2 separate regions of the Homo sapiens genome follow, and region 1 is linked to region 2. Evidence: promoter capture Hi-C in 16 types of primary human blood cells and fetal thymus (Javierre and others, 2016). All regions are on one chromosome and are shown on one strand. The core of a region is centred on a gene start or on the middle of the fragment in contact, and the rest is flanking DNA. Distances in the headings are between cores, read along the strand shown. Region 1 overlaps PAPPA (pappalysin 1). Region 2 holds the start of PAPPA-AS1 (PAPPA antisense RNA 1).

Evidence for each region. The method cuts DNA at HindIII sites, captures the fragments that hold promoters and counts their contacts. A CHiCAGO score of 5 or more calls a contact.
Region 1: a fragment that was not itself captured here is called in contact with the fragment with the promoter of PAPPA-AS1 in region 2 in 1 of 17 cell types (M2 macrophages); the score reaches 6.8 in M2 macrophages.

What each region holds. Positions count from the first base shown.
Region 1 is chr9:116,161,469-116,164,895 of GRCh38, reverse strand. All of the region lies in intron 1 of PAPPA (pappalysin 1), which reads right to left. Among named protein-coding and RNA genes, the nearest start is that of PAPPA, 9.4 kb to the right of the region's middle. The HindIII fragment of the contact is 1,267 bases long and covers 1,040-2,306 here.
Region 2 is chr9:116,398,659-116,401,864 of GRCh38, reverse strand. PAPPA-AS1 (PAPPA antisense RNA 1) reads left to right here and starts at 1,259. Exons shown (of 1, transcript NR_103711.1): 1 at 1,259-3,206. PAPPA (pappalysin 1) reads right to left here. Exons shown (of 22, transcript NM_002581.5): 22 at 1-3,206. The HindIII fragment of the contact is 11,566 bases long and covers 1-2,217 here.

The DNA of each region.
Region 1 (3,427 bases), core at 424-2,923, 240 kb after region 2:
AAGTTTACTTCACAAAACTGAGTATCACATTTATCAATGTTTTATGTTTTCTGCCTGGGTGCCTTGCATCTTAAGATTAGCCTATTAACACAGCCTTCTCTCTTCATTCATCAGCCTCTGAGCTGAAAGATCTGCAGTCACACTGGGGAAAATAACCCCCTCCATATAAATGCATTTGGCCACATTCTGCCGAGCCACCTTTCAGATTCATAGAGCAACAGGAATGGATACGGGACAGGCATAGGAATGACTTCTTGATTACAAGGATAATAGGTACAGGTTGGACCACTGGCTTCCTAAACACACAAGGCTATAACAGGTCTCAGCAACTAGTGGTACGCTGCCCCTACTCACATACTTCGATATTCCAAGTTGTTACTGACCAGCTTTTATGTCTTAGCTTCCTCCAAGTGGGTTGGAATCTGAGACCTGACCAGGGTTCTCTACAATCTAAAGTAGAAGAGGGGAACCTCTTATATTCTTCCAAGTTCTGTGGACCCTGGGTTTGTGGCAAATAATACCAAAAAACAAACACATTTTCTTTATCTTGTTTGGAGAAAAATCCAAGTGGTCAAAGCAAATAAGCTGGGTATGAGGAGTAGGAAGAGAGAGAAGAAGGAGGGAGTTGAGAGGAAGCTGGATATACTTCAGAGATGACAGTTCCAGGGATCCTCTGAAGGAAAATAGTCTGGAAAATGATGACAGACTCCAGAGTTTTGGTATTTTAATTCACTGAGTTATCTGATTAAAATGATAAGCAATACTACAAGGCCGGTGGTCTATTCCAAAGTCCAGGAATTTGTCTGGAATGGCCTTTATATCCTAAGAAATTACAAAATATGAACATGCTAGCATTCACCCAGTAAGTGATGACTGGGAGTCACTCAGCAAGTTTTCTGGATATTTGTGGGGGCTAGAATTAGTTATATTATTAATAGGATGGATTCCAGCTATCAGGAAGTACCAATATTCCCCAAATAATGTCTTCAGTCAGTCTTAGAAATTCTACCACTGTTACATTGCTTTGTGACACAAAGCTTTCTGGGAAGTCCTAAAAGAGTATCCACCAATGGAGCAGTAACATTCCAAGTTGTTACCAGTCAATGGTACTTAGCAAGAAGGTGTACCATCTTCTTTTTTCCCCAGTGTTGCTGAGGTGTGGAAGCCGAAAATGTGTCCACACTTGGCCCCTGAGGGTGACAGGCACAGGCACCACCTAGTGGAGGAAAATACACCAGAAAAGGAAGAAAACTGGAACTATTGCCAACTTCACAGTTTTGTCTGAGGACAGCCTTGATGAGGATTATAGAATCCTAGGAAGTGTCTGTAGAAGTGTCTTTAGTGCAAATAATCCCTACAGTACCACAAAGTTCAGATGTGAAAACTGGTTCTGAGAGGGAGAGTGACTTGCCTAAAGTCACACAGCAAACTAGTGCTAGAACTGACATCTCCTAGCTCAAAGCATTGCTCCTCCTTTTGCGATACACCATGGCCTTCTCCAGAGAGCCTCAGGCCTGCTCATAGGTCTCTTCTTCAAAGCTACTCTGATGATGGCCTCCCTTGACCACTCTTTTCATATCCCACTCCTCTCTCCTCCTGCATCCCCACTCCCACACAGCATTCCTAGACTTCCTTCTCAACTTTTTCTTTACAAACATTCACCTGACATTATGGGATATATATGCTTATTCATTTATAGTCTGTCTCCACCTTCTCCCCAACACCCACTGCCCAGAATATAAACTCCCTGAGGGCGGAGATGTTTCTCTCTTTTGTTGACTGGTCTGTCCTCAAGGCCTAAAACTGTACCCAGCACAGAGCAGAAACTCAAAAAATAGTTGTTGCATGCTTGGGCAGGAAATAGACAAATTTTACCTGGTCTCTTGTTCTTTGTCTGCATTTCTGAGATTTTTTTTACAATGAGCATGCACTATTTTTTTTTAAATGACACAATAATGTGTTTATCTTGTTAGCCTTTCATTTTAGTTGTTTAAATTTTTAATTTTTCTATGTTAAGATGACAGCAATAACTCTTTCCTGAGTTGTAAGGGAGGAAAAGGCAATTCCTGGCTTTGCCAAAAGAGATAAGTATGTCTAACTCCTAGAGTTATTGAGATTATTAGAAATAATGCGTGGCAATGGCTGGCACACATAATACTGATATGAGTTAACGTTTGCTGGGTTACCGCATGGTCTAGATTCCATTACTAAGCATTTTCCACATGGAGGCCCAGTTAATCTTCAAAACAACCCTATGAAGTAACAGCTAGTATTATCTGCACTTTACAGAGGGGAAAAGTGAAGCTTGGAGATACTAAGTAACTTGCCCAAGGTCACACAACCAGCAGGTGCAATAGTCAGGGTTTGACCAGGCAGTTTGATTCCTGAGTCCTGTGATCAACCATTGCAAAATACTTCCTCAGTAAACATATGCTCCTGCAGGTCACTGCCCCAGGCCTCTAGAAGGCTCTAGAATTGCTCTCCAGGTAGTTAGGGATGGAGAGAAATAAGGAACCAGAAAAACGAGAACTAAGGGTATGTGGACCTGTGAGTATATGAGTATGTGTGTGTGTATCGTCACAATACTTCTGGGCCTGTCACAATCACTAACAGATCCCATGAAATTCTCATAAACAGGGCCAAAGATGCTAAACATTTCACAATATGTAGGGCAGTCCCATACAGCAAATAATTTTCTCACTCAAAAGCTTCTTATTGCAGAGCAAGCCTCCACTTGCCCCTTCTCCATGCTCCTCCTAAGGCTCCCCTCATCACTTTTATTCCCCTCGAGTTCTCCCTGGATAATCATTTTCACTTGAGTTTGCAAGTGTACAGAGAGGAGGGGATGGGGAGCTCCTCAGATCTGAAGCCTGGGCTGTGTCACGACTTTCAGCTAATCTTTGTGCGACCTTGGGGGAGTCCCTAACCCTCTCTAAACGGTGGTCTCCGTATTTGCAAACCTTTCAGGTCACAGAACACGCAGGGAACTGAGACTTCACTTCCTCCTGTGGCTCTCAAACACTTTTAGTATTTTTAACTTTTTATTATGGAAATCTTCAATCACACACCACAGCATGAACAAAAATGTATTAAAGCTCCAAGGTTTAATCACTTGGTTTCAACAATTGTTATCAGTTTGCTAATCTCTCACCAACCACTACCCCCAGAACCTTTTTTTTTTTTTTTCTGGAGCTTTTTAAACAAATAAACAAACAAAATAGACAAAACATAATTTTACCCACAAGTACTTCAGTATGCATTTCTAACAAATTAGGATCTTTAAAAAAACATAACAACAATATCATATCACACCTATCAAGATTAACAATAACTCCTCAATGTCAGTCCATATCCATTTAAACTCTTTGTAATGGAGGAACATATTCCTTTAAACATAAGCTTGTAGAATCACACAATTTAAGTGGAA
Region 2 (3,206 bases), core at 10-2,509:
TTTTTTTTTTCTTTTTTACAATAGGCCAGAAGAATTCTTATGAGAACAGCTTTTAAGCACTTCAATGGAGTGTCATTTTTTTGGTAGCTTCCAGAAGGTGCCAAACAGGTTTCAACATCATATTAATTAGAAATACCCATAATAATTATAACAATAATAAAAAGGTATAATATGGTACATAAATATGGAAGAGCAGTTTGTAATATGAATACATTTTCTCTAGACGAGATCACAGTTTTATTTTGTAAATATTACATTTAAGTATATATATACACACATATATGTACAACTATATATACATGTGCATATATATGTAAATTTATATTTATATATAATATCTTTATATAGATAGATATCTGCAGACAGGTTATTGATTATAGAGACCCAAGAAAGCAACTCAATAATTGTTCAAAGTTTTCCTCACTGACTGCTGGTGTGTAGTTTAAGAAGCCCCCATTTGTTTGCACTCAGAATGCCTTATCTTCTTTTAATGGAACACTTGATGTGGAATTTTAAGTCTGAGAAGTGAGGTGCCTTCTGAAGAAGAGATTTTAGAGACTCCCTTCCTCTATAAGTTGGAAATGACCAGAAGTCTTAAGTAGACGACAGTTAGCTGACTTTGACATTGTAGGACATAATCAGCTTTTAACCAAATTATAGAACTGGTAAAGGGTAAGATCAAATTTGCCAAAAAAATAAAATATTCTCCAATACAGGTCTCTCTTTTAAGGTGGACTACAATTCAGGAGCTCCGGCTTTATTCCTTGAAATATCAAACAAGCACTCCCTGTCTTGTCTTTCTAAAAGGCCGATGGGCCTGTGCATTCTTGAATAATAACCCATGGACTTTGTGTCAAGCGTTGGCCCTCACAGCCCACCTAAAACCTCAGGGCCTCAAAATCTCCTGCCCTCCCACTGTGAGGTAGGTATATAGTATTATCCCCATTTTGCAGCTAGAGAAACTGATGCAAATGTAGAGGCAATTGGATAACTTGTTCAAGATCACTGAGCAAACTGCTGCCTGGAGTCAAAAATTCTAACTTCTGTACAACAGGGACATAATTTCTCTTTTGGCTATTATACATTTCTTTTAAAAAGCAAGTGATTGGTAGGAATTTGGCAAAAGTTGAATAAGTTACAAGAACAGGCTTTTATTCATTTGCTATTTGGTTTTTATGTTTCTTGTTTACTTCGTTTGATTTGTTTCTCAAAACTCACTCAGTGGGATTACCTGTCTGTCATGTAGCAGCTTTTTAAAAAACTGGACTGTGCAGTGTGGTTCTGAGTGCAGTCTTTATAAAGCCCAGTGCTGTACTGGTAAATATAAACATTTTATAACGTGAAAAGCACAACGACACAATATGTCCCCTTAATAGCTGGAAAAACCAATATAAGCCCTCCCACTCCCTACTACCACTGATTGCCACCAAACAAATAAACAAAATGCCCACCCCACCCAACAACAACAATAACACATCAAGGGGGAAAATGTCATATTTCCTGGACCTACCACAATGTACAGAAAATAACAGACAGTGTTATCAAATCCCACTCTATGTCTTCTAGGGAAATCTTTATGTTTGTGTCTACCTACTGAGGCTGTAGAATAAACAATTTCCTTTAGGAAACATAAAAATAGGTTTTTTATTCTTAGTTTTTAATCATGCATTTTTATTTCCTTTTAATCTCTTTGTCTTCTATTATCTCTATCTGTACAGCTTTGTCACCATTTTTTTTTATTTTCTCACTTGAAGTAGTTCCAGAAAAAAACACAAAACCTCAAAACTGTTAACTTGACCTTATAATTTCCTTTCTCTTTCTTTCTTTCTTTCTTTTTCTTTCTTTCACACAGGTAAGACCTATAACAACAAATTGACAATTACAACCAAGTTAAATCGAACCTGGAAGGGAGGTAGCTGAAATCTGTCTCAAAGAATTATTTTCAACAAATAGTATTTAAGCATTGGCCAGGATGGGAATAAGACCAAGAGAACCGTCTAGGCAGTGACTCAATGTGTTGAAGCCAGGAGTGGCAGCTGATACCCTGCATTTTCAAAGCCCTACCATCTATGACAATCTTTCCCTTCCTTAACACCCCAATTCACCATCAAAACTCATTTCCCAAGGACTGTATTTCCTTAAAAGGTTGTTGGCACAGAATCTGGGGGTAATGCAAATCCTTTGGGTAGGTAGTTAAGATTGTGGCTTGGAAAAGCTTCCCTAAATAGGGCTTAGAGGACTGTCCACCTCATCTTTCATATTTTGCTGCTAACAATCTAATACTTCAGATGCAGAACCTTCAGTGTTTTAGGGCCTTTGAGCTGCTGACACACAATAGTGCATCAGAGCTGCCTCTCAGTGCTCCGGTCACCTACACAGAAGATGACTGAAGGAATGAAATGACGAGTTAATTCCCAGGAAGAAAATGAAACTGGGAACAAATGCATTGCCCAAATTGAGCTGACCCTCCTCCACTAAGGTTTGAAAAGACCCTATTAAAGATACCTTCCATGTGGGCACGAGGTTGGCCACCAATCAAGTAGCCTCTTTTGCCTAATATCCTTGGCAAATATAAATTTGTTAGCAACAGGTCTGAATGAAAGAGACTGGGTGGGTCTTGATTCAGAAGAGCTGAATTCACTCTGTGAGTCTGAAGATACAAGTCAGCCTCCAGGAATCTTTGCTTAGCTGGATAGTGTGAAAATAGATGATGATGGGAGTGAAGATAGAAAGAGGATAAGGACTGATTTGAGGGAAGCTGGTAAGGTTCTTCTGTGGCTCCTGAAATCACATCATTAGTAATGTCATCTTTGGGTCTTCAGAGCTTTTTGTATTACCTATGGGTATAATTAAGCAACTGGGAGGGTTGATACTGTTACATTTCTTAGCTTGTACCTTCTAAGGTAGTTAACACCACACAGGCTGATAACTCAGGGCAAGAGAGAGGCCTGGAGAGTTGACAAGAGTGTGAAGATACTGGAGAGGGGTTCAAAATAGGATCAATTCTTCTAATACTATTCTTATTTCTTGCTAATAATTTGTCCTTGTAATTATAGTGAAGTAATGGTCTGGATATAAATGAGATATGGTTTTGTGAGGAAGAAACATAGAGGATTATTCTTAACAACTGTGGCAGCCTTGCCAATATGGAACCCAATTTCAGAGTTTGTGAAATGGTACAAGTCTCATAAACTATCTCAGCACTG